Linked DNA regions of Homo sapiens: regions 1, 3, 4, 5 and 6 are each linked to region 2. Evidence: promoter capture Hi-C in human tissues and cell types (Jung and others, 2019). All regions are on one chromosome and are shown on one strand. The core of a region is centred on a gene start or on the middle of the fragment in contact, and the rest is flanking DNA. Distances in the headings are between cores, read along the strand shown.

Region 1 (2,700 bases), core at 90-2,589, 450 kb after region 2:
GAAAGGGGAAAACTCAGGGAAAAGTCCCAGCAACATCGCTCTTTTCTTGCAGTTTGTTCCAATGTTATATGCTGTCTTGAGTGTCAATATCTGCTGAGCTACATTAGCAATAACCAAGAGGAAAAGAAGCTTTTAAAGCCAAAGAAAAATTGTCATTTAAAGTTGTCACCTTGGGGACAAGCTTTTATTCTAATGATGCTGACGTTATTCCAGATATTTCTAGAACATTTTTAGAATTGCCTTAGGAGTTTGAATCATAACATTTTTCGATTTAAAAAAAAAAAACCAGGGTCTCGCTCTGTTGCGCAGGCTGTAGTGCAGTGATGCAATCTCGGCTCACTGCAACCTCTGCCTCCTGGGCTCAAGCAATTCTCCCACCTCAGCCTCCCTAGTAGCTGGGACTACAGGCACGTGCCACCATGCCCGGCTAAGTTTGTATTTTATTTGTATTTTTAGTAGAGACAGGGTTTCACCATGTTGGCCAGGCTAGTCTCAAACTCTTGACCTCAAGTGATCCACTCACCACAGCCTCCCAAAGTGTTGGAATTACAGACATGAGCCACTGCATCCAGCCTTGAGATTTTTACTGATGGCAAATCCTCATGCTTTTGAGAATGGGCTTGATTTTTGGACACATTTAAAAGTCATGTAGATCAAATCCAAAGAAAGTAAGAAAGTGAATGACCAAACCAGGCACTGATTATAAAATCATAAGTATGATGACTTGTGAAATGCATAAATGGTCCCTGAGGATCCTTTAAAAGACAGGATTCTCTTTAAAAGCTCTTTAGGCCAGGATCGGTGGCTCATACCTGTAATCCCAGCACTTTGAGAGGCTGAGGTGGGCGGATCATTAGATCAAGAGATCGAGGCCATCCTGGCCAACATGGTGAAACCCCGTCTCTACTAAAAATACTAAAATTAGCTGGGCATGGTGGTGTGTGCCTGTAGTCCCAGCTACTCAGGAGGCTGAGACAGGAGAATTGCTTGAACCCAGGAGATGGAGGTTGCAGTGAGACGAGATCACGCCACTGCACTCCAGCCTGGGCAACAGAGCAAGACTCTGTCTCAAAAAAAAAAAAACCTCTTTAAAAACTGTTTTGTGCATAACTATAATAAAGGTATAATTTTCCATTTACTTTAAGGTCTCTTATCTTATTAAGCTGGATGTATACCTTAACTGGCTCTTCTTAATTCACAGATTAAGGCCTTTCATGATCTGCCTCTGTCAACTAACCAGCCCCTCTTTCCCCACTTTCCAGGCTCCTTAAGCCTTATTCATCACTATGCCAAACTAATCACATACTTGTTCTTACCTCCACATATATATTTGTGCATATGTTCTGTCTACTTTATCCAGCTGATCAACTCTTATTTGCCTTTCAAAATTAAGTTCACATTCCATGAAGCCTTCCCTGTCCCCTGGACCTGGAGTTAATAGTTCCCTTAGCACCTTGGGACACCTTTTTTATAGCCTTTGCTGCACTGTATGGTCATTACTTGTTTACACGTCTGCCTCTACTGTAGACTGAATCCCTCCAGGGCAGGGTTCATGTCTCTGTATCCCCAACACCTAACTGTTAGGCACATAGTAGATGCTCAATACGCATTTGCTGGATGAGTGAATGCATTCTTACTGAAGCATCTGTGTGCCCCACACCTCAGTGATGCTAAGCAGTATGGAGCTCCCACTGTTGGAACCTAAAGAAGTTTACTAAGGAAGTGAAGTGACAACCTAAAACTCAGTCCCAGCTTTAACTTGGCTTATCTTTGCATCTAAGTGAAGATCATCTCTAAGACTGGGATATCTACACTGAACAAGGGCTTCCCACCTTCCTCTGTTTTCAGCCTAGGTGCAACCATGAAAGGAAAGGAGCAAATGTAATCTGTATCATAATATATTCTATTTGAACATGATTAAATTAAAACTAATTGATAATGTCGATTAAATAATAAACACTAATTAAATACTAATTGTCAGAATGTGTCTCCTACTTTTATTCACTCTTTATAAGTTTTAATTACTAAGTTAATGATCAAGAATGGTACTATGTTGGGCTGAAACCTAGGATTTGGAATATACCCATTCATTCATCTACCAAATAATGTTTAAATTGAATTTAAAAACTAAGGCTGAATAATTATAGAGCACCTGTTATATGTCTAACACTGTGCTGAAAAAAAATATATGAAGATGCCATATTTAGCTTCATGGAATTCACAACCCAGATACTAGAACCTTCCATCTGCAAAGCTCTTTGCAAAGCATTTGAATACATTGTATCATTTAATTCTCACTATTCTATTCTACCCAATTTTCCTCATCTACTTTAGATAAGGAAAATGAGGATGACAGAGATGAAACAGTTTACCCAGTTACTCAGCTCACTCTGGCTAGAAAATAAATGGAAAAATTAGGGCTGAATCTGGGAGTTCTGTCTCTAAATCCAAAGCTTTTCTCATGGGCTCACACAAAGTCAATAATTTTTTTTTTTTTTTTTTTGCTTTTTACTATGGAACATTTCAAACATATACAAATGTAGATAAAATAATATAACAAACCCCATGTCCTATCACCCAGCCCTTATTATCAGCAACCCATGGTCATTTATGTCTTTATCTACCCACCCAATATTATTTTGAAGCAAATTGAAGATACCATATCATTTTGCCCATAAATATAACTTCTGTTAAAAGATA
Region 2 (2,700 bases), core at 187-2,686:
AACCCTAACTCATCTAACCATTATGGCAACCTTATGAGGCGTCAATGTCATTCTGGTGTAATCCACAAGAGGGTGGAAGTGCAGAGAAGAAATTCCCCCACAGTTATACAGCAAGTCAGGGGTAGAGCTGGTGTTTGAACCCAGGAAGCAGGGGGCTGAGAATGGAGGTGCATAAGCCCTTTGATCTGCCACCTCTCAATGGCGGGAGGGAAGGAGCCCGTTAGAGGTAAGGTCCTGCCCCTGCCTCTGGTGGCCTCCCCCGGATTTGGAGCCGCTCAGCAGGCAGGTCTCACAGTGGTGCCCTGCAACTGAGTACACTTGCCCCGGACAGCCAGACGGTGGCCTGGCCAGGACGCTTCTGCCACAGCTAAGGGCCGCTACTCTTTCCTGCCCTGCCGGAGCCCCTTCTCGCACGAGGGAAGTGGAGCCCGAGGAGGAAGGAACGCGCAAGTTAGCACTTTCCGGGCTGTGCCAAACTGTGCCCCTGAGCAGCAGTGAGACTTAGGGTCTGTCAAGCCCAGCTGTCCCCAGCGGCCAGTCCCTGGGCCAGGAAAGGACAGGCCAGGAAGAGTCAGTGCCCATCCTGACGGGCCTGAGGTGCTGGGTGCTCAGGGAGGCCATGAAGGACCCAGGTCCCACACAGAAGGCCGTCAGGGCTGTCTTCCCAGATTTGGTTCAGGCCTTGTTTAAGGTCATATGGGGATTTAAGTGTCAGAGCAACAGCTAGACGCCAGCTGAGGCTTCCCCACACGCCCCAGGAAACCTCCTCCTCCGTGGCCACCTGGCCCTGAGCCGCTTGCTGAGACCCTCCCTGCCCAGCACCCTCCCCTTTCTGCATCTGGCTCAAAACCCACCTCTGTCAGCAAGTGCCCCTCTTGGTTTCCAGGCCTGAGTCAGTTCCTGTGACAGGAAGCCTTTGGAGAGTGTGACTTGAACTTGGCGGGCTCTCACCCCAAATCCAGCCTAGGAAGGCTGACCAGAGGGGCCTGCTCCTTCCCCAGCCAGATGGACGCCGTCTGCCTCCCGCCCAAGTTCAGACGGTCTAGCAAGATGCATTGAACTCAGGGCGGGTGTGTGCCAGGAGGCCGAGGAGGAACGCTCAGCTCTCCAGCTTCTATCTGCTGCCTTTCTGCCACTCAAGCTATCTTTCTTTGGGGTTAAAGCAGGGTCCTCCTTTAAGTTGCAAATTTTCTTAGAGAGGAGGCCGACAGGAAGAGGGGCTGGGTACTCTGGAAGGCTGAGGTGGCAGGAGAGGGAAGAGTAGGGTCCAGCTGACCCCACAAAGGCAGGCCAATCAGAGCCACCCAGCATTGCACACGCCCGGGCACGCACACCAGCACACTCACCACCGTCCATCGACAACCCAGTCATTTCCCCAGGTGAATGGGCTGCCTCCACTCCCCTCTTCCTGCTGTCTCTGCTTTTTGGAGAGTGTCTGGCTGCCTCCACGGGGTGGCCGGGGACGAGGTGCGGGCATTAAACATTAACAGTGCCAGGTAATATTTACCCTGGTCACAAGAAAAGCTGCAGTGTGGATGGAGGGGCTCCTTCTGCAGGGTGAGGACGTGCGTGGGGAGGCAGGGGCAGGGAGGAGCTGGCTGAGTTTCCAAACCTTCCCAAAGGAAATTTCCAAAGAGAAGGGTTGGGATGGGTCAGCAGTCGTGCTGTTCTGCCAGCTGGGGAAGCTACAGCTGGGGCGGTGGGAACAGGAAAGTGGAAGTTGCACAATCTCTTCAGTGTACACTGTACTTGGGAGTTTCTGGGGGCAGTGGCCCACAGTGGCCCCCAGCCCAGGCAGGGCCCACCGCACCAGCCACCATGGATGCCGCCGCTGCAGCTGGTGTTCCTTATGTGGTACTGGAGGCTTTCCTGCAGTGGTCCCTAGGAGCCTGGCCCACTGCTCCCCCACCACATCCCTGGAGCACCGCCAAAGCTGACCAGCAGTAGATCCTCCAGAAGGGCCCTTCATCTGTCATCCTATTCACCCATCAACGTGCACCCTGCAGGTTACACCTCATTCAGAAGGGCTTCAGTCATCCCCAACTAATTTCTCCTTCCCTGCCGCCCTGGCACTTCCTCCTACCACCATTTGGCCTGGCTCTCGGATTGTGTCCTTGCCAGTTTACCATGGAGCATGCAGGATCCTTAAGGACAGGGCAAGACTTTCATCGTGGGGAAAACCCCCTGCGTTTATGGTTTACCAAGCACTTTCCTCACTGTTTTTTCTCCTCAAGCTTTATGTTTCCCATTTTACTGATGAGGCAGGTGTCTAAGGCACAGAGAGGTAGGGGCCTTGCCCAGGGTCACACAGCCAGTGTGGGGGAAGTGGAGACTGACAATCAGGCCTCCTGCTGCAGGAGGCAGATGCTTTCCACACCTCGCAGGCAGCCTCCCCACTCCGCTGTGACCTCCTTCGCCCCAGGACTCCTGTGCCGGGTAGTCACAGGTACTGTAGAATCCTCGTTGAGTTCTAGTCCATTGAATTGGCCTCCAGAAAAGGCTGAAGCCCAATGGCCACAAAACAGCCAAGGTCAGTGGCCAGCGGACAGCAGGGGAGCTTGAGCCCTTCTGAAGGGAGCCACTGTATCCATGAATCCTCCCCAAGCAGGGGCAGGGCTTGGCACTTGAGTTCACACCCTGGCCCTCTCACTTGCTAATGGTGTGGTCTCAGTCAATGACTTCACCTCTCTGTGCCTCAGT
Region 3 (2,700 bases), core at 62-2,561, 380 kb before region 2:
GTGCTGAGGCTGTGTGGAAAGAGCCCTGACTTGGCGCTGGGAGAGCTAGCTCACTCCTTCCCGGTTGTCTTTGCAGCCCATGCCACTCCTGCCTCAGGTTGCTCAGCTGTGGAATGGGTCAACAAGCCCTGCTGGCAGGGCAGGTGGAAGCCCCTGGCCCACCGTAGGCCCTCGATCAGATGCTGGCTGGCTCTGAGCCCGCGGCAGGGTAGGGCTTGGGGCTCTTGTGTTTGGGCCAAGAGAAGCTTGAGTGGCCCCGGTAGGCTGGCCAGGCTGCGCAGGCACCACCTCCTCTCGTCTGGGCTGCGGTGGATAAGAGAGTGGGGGAGTGAGGAGGGGCCCAGGGAGGCCCAACGGCAAGTAGAGGACCTGCGGTCCTGGGCTAGTTGTGGCCAGTTCCTACGCCCCAGGGAGAGGCAGACGCTCAGCCTTGCAGCTCTACCTGCGCGGCTGCTACAGCTTGCCCTTGGGATGAGGCCTTGGAAGTGTCATTCCTCTGAAAAGTGGGGGTGCAGCCCCCATGGCACACCCATGTCCCGGTCAGAGATTCAGTGGGGCACTCCCTAAGAGGGTCTGATTCTAGCCCAGAGCCTTCCTTCACAGCACGCGCTCCGTAAAGGTCTGCGGATCGCAGGAATCCGCCATCGCTGGAATCACCCCTGCCCGGTGTCCAGTTCAGCACGGGGGCTCTCCTTTGAGCCTCAGCTGCTCTGTGGAAGCAGCACACCCGGCTGTAGCCACCTCTGGAGGAGCTGAGCATTGGGACAAAGGCCCGGCTTTGAATTGGGGGTAGAGGCGACTCCCCCTTTTTCAAGCTGGGAGTAGGGTTTGGACTCGGGAACTGAGTGCACCCTGTCCACCCGCCCCAGGCAAGAGCCGGAGGCAGCCTGTTGTGAGGCTTTGCTGGAGTCAGGGGGCAGCAGAGGCCCAGTCTTGGTGTGTGCGGGAGGCAGGCGGGTGGCCAGTTCCTCACAGCTGGGTGGCAGATAAAGCGGAGCAGGCAGAGACCCTGTCTGGGGAGAACCAGGATTCTGTAAGGGAGCTTTTGGAAGTGTTTGCCCCTCTGCCACAGCCTCAGGCTTCTCACCCTTGCCAGCAGGCTCGATGGTCACCTTCTCGCTGCTGTTGCCCCGGCCGGCAGAGGTGACGGCGGCCACCCACAGCAGATACTGCTGACCGCGGTTTAGGTGGGCGATCCGGTAGAAGAGCTGCTCTGGACTCGTCTCGTACTCGCTGGGAGCCTGCGGGGCAGAGGCAAAGAGGCTCTAAGAAGCAGAACTGGGGCCCTCCAGCGTCCAAATCTTCCTCAGTGCCCGGGGCTCAGAGGAGAGGATGGCGGGGTCGGATGCGAGGCAGGATTCTGTCCTATTTGCCCTTTCCAAGTTTTAGAGATGCAGCGGACAGAGTGTGCCCTGGGTTTGGTCCCTGGGAGCTGATGGGCCTGCCTCGCGGTGTTGCTGGGTCAGCCTCAGTTTACCTCTTTAACTGATCCACGCTCTGGCAGCTGTGGCTCAGGCCAGGGGATGTGAGTACTTTAGGTGAGGGACGGGGTAGCCAGGAGAAGGGAGAATGGGGGACAGGGGGTCCCAGGAAAGCCCTGAGGAAAGAGTCTTCAGGAAGAAGGCAAATGACTGCCTCTGCCTGATGAGGGTTGGAGACAGGCTCCTGCAGCCTGCTCTGGCTCCCGTCACCTCCTAGCCCTGCCGTCTAATTACCACTCCTGCATTTTGCAGGCAGCACGCCCGCCCGTCCAGGGAGGAGGGGGCGGGAGAAGGAACTATGAAAGCTTTACTGGGTAGCACTTTATTAATGATTATTAGTGGTATAGATCACCATATATATTTGTAGGTTATACAAATCTATAAAATTTTTTTTAACAAAATGACAGTTTTGACAAGTTGCCAACAAAACAATATCGGATCCCAGTGGTTTTACCAGTTGCTTTGATGAAAAGATTATGTTGCCTTGGAAACCAGAGGCTCAGATATTGAAATGAATTTGAGAAGGAGCTTTTGATAAGCGCTAGTTTGCAGACCTCCTGTCAGCCTCTTCCCTGGCACGGGCGGGATGGGGCTGACTTTCATTTTATTTTATTTTTTGGTCAGCCGCAGGGAAGGGAGAGGAGGACAGCACCAGGGCCCCTTTGAAAACAGAGCGGAAGTCCAGGGAGGGAGAGCAGCCCCAGAACAGATGGGGGCCCGAGGCCAGAGGGAGCTAATAATTAGTTATCTCTGCAGTCACAGGATCTTGCACACACACGCTCACAAGCACACACACATGTAGACGCATGCACACATGCTGAGGAACAGACCTCCAGGCATGTATGGGCACAGAGGGACATTCTTCATGCCCCATAGTGGGGCTGAGAGGCCCAATAACTTATAACAGGAGGAGACATCCTTTTTGGCCCCAGGCCATCTGCAGGGAAATGTTAGGGGAAAAGGCACAGGCATCTCTGCAACACACACACACAGCTCCCTGGCATATTCCTCCTGCCTCCCTCGTGGGGGTCTGGCCTTGAATCCAGGAGGTCCGGGGGGGCAGGTGCAGAGCCACCCTTGAGCCCTGGTGGTTGGGAAGCCCTTTCAGGCCACAGCACCCTGGGACTGGTGTGCGTATCTGTCGTTGATATGTGCTTGAAGTGTGGGGTAGTGTAGTGGCTTCAACACCCTCCTGCCCTTCCTCCTGGGCATACAGCCC
Region 4 (2,700 bases), core at 105-2,604, 360 kb before region 2:
ATTGAAAACAGGGATTCAGAGAGATACTTGTACACTCATGTTCAAAGCAGCATTATTCAGAATAGCCAGAAGGTGGAAGCAACTCAAGTGTTCACCAGGAGATGAGTGGAGAAGCAGAATACGATAGTGCAATACAATGGGATAGTATGCAGCCATGAAAGGGAGAAAACACTGACATCCGTCACAGCGCGGATGAACCTTGAAGACACTGCACTAAGAGAAATAGGCCAGACAAAAAAGGACAAAAGCTATTTGTCCGATTCCACTTAGGTGGTACTTAGAATAGTCAAAATCAGAAGAAAATAGAAAGGCCAGGTGCGGTGGCTCATGCCTGTAATCTCAGCACTTTGGGAGGCTGAGGTGGGTGGATCAGTTGAGTCAGGAGTTCGAGACCAGTCTGGCCAACATGGTGAAACCCCATCTCTACTAAAAATACAAAAAATTAGCTGGGTGTGGTAGCACACACCTGTAGTTCCACCTACTCAGGAGGCTGAGGCAGGAGAATCGCTTGAACCCGGGAGGCGGAGGTTGGAGTGAGCCAAGATCGACAGAGTGAGACTCTGTCTCAACAAAAGGAGGGTGGAATAGAGCTTTCACGGGGAGCTCATGGTTCATGGGTACAGAATTTCAGTTTGAGAGGATGAAAAAGCTCTGGAAGTGCTAGTGGTGATGGTTGTACAACATTGTGAATGTGCTTACTGCTATTGAGCTGCACGCTTAAACATGGTTCAAATGGTAGATTTTAAGTTATATGTATTTTGTTAAAACTAGAGAAAAAAAGATCCCTGACTTTCACCTGGGTGCAGCCCCTCTGGGAACTCTAAGGCTGCAGTGCCCCAGACGCCAAGGCCAGGGATTGGGGAATGGTGAAGGCTGAGGCCCGAATGAGCCCTGGATGGAGGCACAGAGATGGCAAGGACTTGGAGGTTAGAAGGGGGCTGGTGGGAATGAAGACTGAGCCCAGTCAGCCAGGCGAATGGAGAAACTCCACTGGCATCGGTCTGGGGCTGGAAAACTCTCATCCCAGGCTCGAACCCTGATAGACACCCAGCCAGGTGCGCGCACGCATGCGCGTGCACACACACCTCCCCCCTCCCCCCGCCGCCAATATATCCATTCACACCCAGAACCAGGAACACGTATCCAGACCCATCAAAGCAAACATCTTAATCCACACCCCTACTCCCAACCAGATACATTTAGATCCGCAAATAGAAACTGGCTCCTTTAATGCCCGGGCCTGCCCATCTATAAATTGAGACAGAACACCCACCCCAGCGCATTTAAAAACAGCTTGAATCGGGGTTTTAAAGACAATGAAGTTAATTTAAAAGCCCACCTTTTATTGTACTAAAAAATAGTGAGATAAAAACAATTAAGTTAGTAAAACAGCACTACTGTTTTTTTTTCTAGTCAATGAATGTTTTAAATGAACTGCATTTTTAAGCTCACTGTTAATAAAATGAAGTTTTTAATTTAACATAATTGTTTTGGACTCACTAAATAGGTGTGTGTCTGTGTGTGTGTGTTTAATTGACTTTACTCTTTGTTGCTGCTTGAATGTTTCTCTCTGCACTTGGGCAGTTCTGCTTGCTGCTCTGTAAGTGGACACATTTTTACATTTGGGTCTTGTATCTACACATGTATGTCTATGCACACACACATACACACAGACATCATTATAGATACAAATGTATCTTCAAGAGCCTGAGACCTTCCTCTTCACATCGACCCCCATTCTCACGCTTCATGTACGTGTATCTATACTGACACACATTGAACATCATTATACTATGCCACAGATTGCCTACATGCCCAGAGCTATGTATACCATGATATATACCTGCACACGTGACCACATCCACATATACTGACAGGTCTCAGACAGGCATGCAGGCACACCCCAATCTATCCATCCAGATAGATTCACATATTTATACAAATCTTCACAGATCCTTCCTGCCTCCTTCCTCTCTCTTTTTTTCTCTCCTTCTCTGTCCCCCGCCTCTCCAAACAGCCACAGTCAGGATTTAAATCAATCTTAACAATATTTCTCTGAAGCATTAAGAAATCAATAGGGCTGATTGCAAATTTATGTCATAAAGCAGGGGCGATCCATCTCGTGGAAAGGGTCTTAAAATGAAGTGACTTATCTTCAAGTGAATCTTTATTTTTCATTAATCTGTTTCTCAATGTTAAAAAAAAAAATCCCCTGAGAAGTCAGCCCAAAATTTATTGACCACCTGGTTCATTCTGAAGTTCTAACTTTCTAATCAATTTTATTTTTCATTATGAGACTTTGGAGAAATAAATCTGATTCTAAATTTTTATCGACCTGTGGGTCAGAGCTTTGTAGCCCAATGTTTCAGTACTTTACATATTTATTCATCCCTGCCCCCACCTCCTGGCTGCCTTGGAGTGTTTCTAGGATACAGGTCCACAGCCAGGACGCAGCCAAGAGTTTGGGATTGGATGCCCGGCCTCACCCCACTTTCTGAGGAGAGCCCTGGAACCCAGATCTGAATCTGGAGAGGAACCCTGGCTCCAGGTATCCACTAGGTGGGCTGCCCCCAGGAAGGACCAGCTGCCCAGCCCTACCTCGCTTTCCTCTTGGTCATGCCTCTGGGAGGGAAGGAACCAGGCTGCTGCTATGTGTGTGAGTGTGAGTGTGAGTGTGCGTGCACATGGTCTTAGGAAAAA
Region 5 (2,700 bases), core at 80-2,579, 430 kb before region 2:
TGGCGGCTGGAGGTTGTCAAGCAGAGAACCCTCAGAGGCTTGAGGGAGAGCGTCCTGTGGATTTGAGAAAGTTCGTGACTGAAAGAGATTTAGCCAGACCAGAGGTTTTGAGACAAAGGCGCTCTGTCCCTCACTGTCTCTGAGGGACAGCTGCAAGGGCCTCACTCCCCACTTTTCTCTCCTTTCTTAGGATGAGAGGCTAGCAATATAGCAAGGATTTTCTCTTTGTCCATACTCCCTCTTCTACTCCAGTCAGATGGTGGGCTTCTGAAGGTTTTAGCACAGTCTCTCTGAGCACTTGTAGTACAGTGCACTTCCCTACTCCTGCTGTAGTGTTTTCCTTGTCTAATAGCTGCAGCTTTGCACCTCACCAAAATAAAAAGAAAATTCTACATGGCCCGACTTAATGACAGCATCCAACCTGGCCCCCCTGGCTTGGATCTTATTTACCAGCATGAGCACCATCTGTGGATCTGTGGCCTAGTCTAAAGGCAGGGGGTGGGAGCAGAGAGCCGAAACTTACTGAAATGCCCCTCTCCTCTGACCTTCATGTTCCTGTTCATTTGCCAGTTGTAGACTTCAGGGGCTGAGTTATTTCAGAGGAACAAAGATGTGCTGTGCTTCCCCATGCTTCCCTTGACCCTGATCTCGAGGGCTTGGGGGTCGGTAGTCTTCCTGGCTCCGCCTCCCACCATGATCAGTACCTGGCCAGCTTCACTCACAGTCCCTTTGCTCCTCCCCAGGCTGTGGCAACGCTGGAGAAGGAGCACAGTGCTGAGCTGGAGCGGCTCTGCTCCTCATTGGAGGCCAAGCACCGGGAGGTAAGATGCAGCATCCTGGGCCCCCTTCATGGCTGATTAGCAGAATTCAGCCCCATCCCTGGCTACTAGGCAGCGAGCCTCTCTCTCCAGCCCTGGGGGATGGATGCCAGGTCCTCAGAACACATCCCCACACAGCAGCTGTACAGTCTGTCTGAGGGTCACACTCCCCTGTGTGTGCGGGGGCCTCCTCAGGTGGTCTCCAGCCTCCAGAAGAAGATACAGGAAGCTCAACAGAAAGAGGAGGCCCAGCTGCAGAAGTGCCTTGGGCAAGTGGAGCACAGAGTTCACCAGAAGTCTTATCACGTGGCTGGGTATGAGCACGAGGTGAGTGCTGCTCTGTCTTCCACAGTCGTGTGCGCCTGTTGTGGACTCTCTTACAGTCAGCTGAGCCGGCCTAGCCTCAGCGGCCTCCAGTTTGCTTTGGATGGCTCAGCTGGGGTTAGCATTTCTAGTTCCCTTTTTATGCCTTAGTTCCCTTGAAGCCAGGTACTCCTCCAATCTGATGCCCCTGTATGCATGTGGGGAGGGGGTGTTGGGGTATGGCTGTGTGCTGACCATGGTGTCATGGCTGTGTGATGTGCATGTGTTGTGTGTGTTGGGGGAGATTGGGGAAATGTGTGTAAGACCTTCAGGTGCAGCAGGCCCTGAGTGCTGGTCCGCCTCGGTTCTTCATGCCACATCCCTGCCATCTCCCCTGCAGCTCAGCAGTCTCCTGCGAGAGAAGCGCCAGGAAGTGGAAGGGGAGCATGAGAGGAGGTTGGACAAGATGAAGGAGGAGCACCAGCAAGTGATGGCTAAGGCCAGAGAGCAGTATGAAGCTGAGGTAGCTCAGCCACATCCCCTGCGCGCATGCACACACATGCACACACACATGCACGCACATGCACACACACATGCACACACACATGCACGCACATGCACACACACCCCGGGGTCCTTCCCACCTGGCTGTGGGGCAGAGGAAGGGGATAAACTGTGGTCAGGGATTGTGGGAGGTTTTCCTTCCTGGTACCCTGCCACGATGATGTTTTTTGCCTTTTTTATTAAAACATGAGAAAAACCTCCACCTAATGGGGGGCAATTCCTCTTTTATCAGGCAGGCTGTACTTTCTTCTGATAGTAAAAAGAACCCCCATACATTGAGCTTGTACTGTGTGCCAAGAACTGTTCTGAGCTCTTTATCTATTTTAACTCATTTAGTCCTCACACCAGCCTTAGGAAGGATCTACTATCATTGTCTCCATTTTAAAGATGAGGGCACTGAGACTTGGAGAGTTTAAGTAGCTTCCCAAGATCACACCCAGCCAATAAGTAGAAGAGCTAGGATTCAAGCCCAGGCCATCTGACTCCAAAGCCTTCAGTTTCCTCACTGCAATGCTGTGTCACCAGGGTTCCTCAACATCTTGGGACACCAAGAAATAGACTGGCAAGAGCCAAGTAATACTGATATTCTCCCCATTTTAAGCCTTTGGTCTTAAGGTAGGAAAGTTCAGCGACTTGAGTTTACCCAAGCTGGCCTGCCTTGCTCACATTGAGGGTGAACAATGGGTGGGTAGAGGGTGGCTGACTATAGCCCACAGCTGGGACCCTGCAGGGTGTTAAGACTACTGCTCCAGTAACTGGAACCAGTATCCCAGACTCTTTCTAGGATCTTTCCCAGGGCAGAAATAGCAGTCCCATGATGAAATTTGCCATATCCCTTCCCCCAACCAATTATGACCTTGCTGAAGAATAGTGATAATTTATCAGTGACCTCTCATTCCTTACAGAGGAAAAGTTGTATATGGTGGAGCCATAGGGAGAGCCAGAAAGGGAATCTGTCGTGGTGTCTGACCAGCCTCTGCTTCAGCTCTAGAGGGCTGCAGGCTTGCTGGGGCCA
Region 6 (2,700 bases), core at 150-2,649, 350 kb after region 2:
GCTCAGAGGGGTTGAGTAACTTGCCTGTGATCATTACGTAAATGACAAAGGTGGCTTGAAACCCAGGTCCTGCCAGAGATTCCATAGCATTCCTGCTCTGATGTTAATATGCCAAGTAACTCAGCAAAGCAGGCTGGCAGGGCCTCTGCACTGTCTGTGTTTAGCACTCCTACTCCAAACCCAGCACATCACACCACAGAAAGAGAGAGAGCCTTTGTGGTGGGGAATAGTTCCATCAACAGTCCTTGGACTTGACTCTCAGTTGCTGCTCCAGCAATAAGTAAGTTTAGGAGCAAGAATGAAACTCTACAAAGCAGGCTTGCAAATAACTTTCTAGCCCACTTCCCCACCAGGAAGTCTCTGAGTGGTCAAATACAAACACTTGACAGGACAGTCTGCAAGACTGGGCTGGGCAGTTCTGAGGCTGGATTTAAAGGGCTGCAACCTCGCTCAGCCTGTGGGTTCCATTTTTTTCCTGAATCTCTACACCTGGCCCTTCCTCCATTCCATCCGGCCCAAGCCAAAGGTGCCTTCTCCATCAGTGCGTGCCTCAGCAGGTCTCCTCCCAACCCAGACATCATTCCCCAAGCCCGCTTCCCACCTACTCCCACACACGTTCCAACAGATCAGTGAGACCGAGTGCCAAGAAGCCAGACCCAGACTCAACTTTCTGCCACCAGCTCCCCTGCACACTCTCCTAATACCCTAAATCCACCAGGATCAAGCTTCTGAAAAGAAGCCCCTTAAGGGAGCATTAAGTCCCAGGACCCCGCATTTGCAGCAACTCCAAAAAATAATCCCTGAAGAGACTGCAGGTCAATCCACTCTCTGCCCCACCGCCACGTAGGTCCACTTAGGGGAAATCCAGAGAAGATTCACCTCCCTTGACAATTGTCAGCCCCCAGCAACACTCAGATCCCCTGACCCAACATTTCTGTGACTAAGTAGTCCCAGGGTTCTGCACTCCCCAGCAACGTCCCTTCCAGTCCCCAGCACCTCCCCTCCCAAGGACACAGAGGGAAAGCGCTAGCAATGTCTTCTTTCCTATCCCCTGCCCCCATCCTCTTCACATTGCGGCTACACTTCTGAACCCTCGGGAGCATGCAGATGTGTCTAACTTACCCAAAGAGAAAAAGAGACTGAGCCCCGTGAGGCTGAAGGCAGGGCGAGGTAGCCAGGCATCTCTGTGCATTTTCAGAGACTGAGATGTTAGTCGGGTGGGCTACGGGAGAGGGTGATTTGAGGGGGCGAGAACTACAAGGGAGGAATGGTTGGATGCTAAAAAAAAATGCACGGATGTACTTCAAAGACATATACAACATTAAGGAAGCTTTATTTCCATCTCTCTAATATGGCCGGCTTGTATGTTGCTGCTAAAAAGAGAGAGAGAGGGAGTGTGTAAAGGAGAGAGAGAGAGATGGGGGGGAGAGAAAAGGGGGATGGGGTAAATATTGTGGTTGGTGGATTTCAAAAAGCAGGTGGGAGGGCATAAAAAAGTCATTTTGAAAAGAACAAAATCCCAGAAATTTTTACCCTCTAAAACAAGAAATAATACAAACCCTGCTTTTTGACTTCACTGGGATGATTGTTGGATTTTGAAAGCTATTAGAGGAATCCATTTATTTTAAAGATTCTGGAAAGGGAAACACCTTTTATCATTTAAAAACACCCCCAGGCTGACGCAGTGGCTCACACCTGTAATTCCAGCACTTTGGGAGGCCGGATGGATTGCTTGAGTCCAGGAGTTCAAGACCAGCCTGGGCAACATGGCAAAACCCATCTCTACTAAAAATACAAAATTTAGCCAGGCATAATGTCGCATGCCTCTTGTCCCAGCTACTGCACCGCACTCCAGCCTGGGCCCTGCCTCCAGAGGGAAAAAAAAAAAAAAAACCTAAAAAAAAAAAGGAGATGCTTGTTTTTGTGTTATTGAAAAGGGTTCAGGAAAGTGAGTTGGAGAGACTTTCAAGGGGTAATGCTTTCCTCATTCTAGCGTTTCCTCTGAAAACAGAACATGTTGAAGCAGGCTGATAGAAAAATACCCAAGAGATCTTACAATTGAATGTAACACAGGCCTTTGGATAAACCTGATTCAAACAAATCAACAGGAAAGAAAAGTTTTTGAGACAATTGGGAAAAGTTAAATATGAACTACATAGTAGATTGTATTAATGAATCATTCTTAATTTTGTTGGGTCTGATAAAATGTGGTTTTGTCCTTTAACATCTCTATCTGTTAAAGACACACATGGGTGGCCGGGCGGGGTGGCTCACACCTGTAATCCCAGCACTTTGGGAGGCCGAGGCAGGCAGATCACCTGAGGTCAGGAGTTCGAGACCAGCCTCCCTAACATGGTGAAACCCTGTCTCTACTAAAAATACAAAAGTTAGCCGGGTGTGGTGGCGTGTGCCTGTAATCCCAGCTACTTGGGGGGACTGAGGCAGGAGAATTGCTTGAACCTGGGAGGCGGAGGTTGCAGTGAGTCGAGATCACTCCGCTACATCCCAGCCTGGGCCACAGAGTGAGACTCCATCTCAAAAATACATATATATATATTCAACGAAAAAAAGAGATGGGAGAATAGGTGACACGAGACTAGTTGTTTTGCTTGATAATTGAAACTAGCTGGTGATGGGTGTAAAGGGTTTGTCATATAGTTCTCTCTTCTTTTGTGTATGTTTAAAACTTTTCTTTTGAAG

What was found. The method cuts DNA at HindIII sites, captures the fragments that hold promoters and counts their contacts. A contact is called where the count stands out against the background at its distance.
Region 1: a contact is called between a fragment that was not itself captured here and the fragment with the promoter of FXYD2 in region 2, in 1 of the 25 tissues and cell types used here (mesenchymal stem cells).
Region 3: a contact is called between a fragment that was not itself captured here and the fragment with the promoter of FXYD2 in region 2, in 5 of the 25 tissues and cell types used here (dorsolateral prefrontal cortex, heart left ventricle, lymphoblastoid cells and 2 more).
Region 4: a contact is called between a fragment that was not itself captured here and the fragment with the promoter of FXYD2 in region 2, in 1 of the 25 tissues and cell types used here (dorsolateral prefrontal cortex).
Region 5: a fragment that was not itself captured here is called in contact with the fragment with the promoter of FXYD2 in region 2 in 1 of the 25 tissues and cell types used here (hippocampus).
Region 6: a contact is called between the fragment with the promoter of SCN2B here and the fragment with the promoter of FXYD2 in region 2, in 1 of the 25 tissues and cell types used here (mesendoderm cells).

The regions. Positions count from the first base shown.
Region 1 is chr11:118,277,598-118,280,297 of GRCh38, forward strand. No RefSeq gene overlaps it. Among named protein-coding and RNA genes, the nearest start is that of MPZL2, 15 kb to the left of the region's middle. RefSeq lists an enhancer at 1-131. The HindIII fragment of the contact is 5,787 bases long and covers 1-2,700 here.
Region 2 is chr11:117,823,308-117,826,007 of GRCh38, forward strand. It overlaps FXYD2 (FXYD domain containing ion transport regulator 2), which reads right to left and starts at 1,437. Exons shown (of 6, transcript NM_001680.5): 1 at 1,347-1,437. The coding sequence starts at 1,371. The region is part of intron 6 of FXYD6-FXYD2 (FXYD6-FXYD2 readthrough); the gene reads right to left. RefSeq lists enhancers at 1,177-1,730, 1,731-2,283. The HindIII fragment of the contact is 16,763 bases long and covers 1-2,700 here.
Region 3 is chr11:117,442,799-117,445,498 of GRCh38, forward strand. It overlaps DSCAML1 (DS cell adhesion molecule like 1), which reads right to left. Exons shown (of 33, transcript NM_020693.4): 21 at 1,088-1,241. Among named protein-coding and RNA genes, the nearest start is that of CEP164, 120 kb to the left of the region's middle. RefSeq lists an enhancer at 1-738. The HindIII fragment of the contact is 4,661 bases long and covers 1-2,700 here.
Region 4 is chr11:117,466,110-117,468,809 of GRCh38, forward strand. The region is part of intron 16 of DSCAML1 (DS cell adhesion molecule like 1); the gene reads right to left. Among named protein-coding and RNA genes, the nearest start is that of CEP164, 140 kb to the left of the region's middle. The HindIII fragment of the contact is 8,518 bases long and covers 1-2,700 here.
Region 5 is chr11:117,391,483-117,394,182 of GRCh38, forward strand. It overlaps CEP164 (centrosomal protein 164), which reads left to right. Exons shown (of 33, transcript NM_014956.5): 18 at 744-821; 19 at 1,014-1,145; 20 at 1,522-1,644. Among named protein-coding and RNA genes, the nearest start is that of CEP164, 65 kb to the left of the region's middle. The HindIII fragment of the contact is 6,096 bases long and covers 1-2,700 here.
Region 6 is chr11:118,175,240-118,177,939 of GRCh38, forward strand. SCN2B (sodium voltage-gated channel beta subunit 2) reads right to left here and starts at 1,400. Exons shown (of 4, transcript NM_004588.5): 1 at 1,123-1,400. The coding sequence starts at 1,192. The HindIII fragment of the contact is 9,424 bases long and covers 1,028-2,700 here.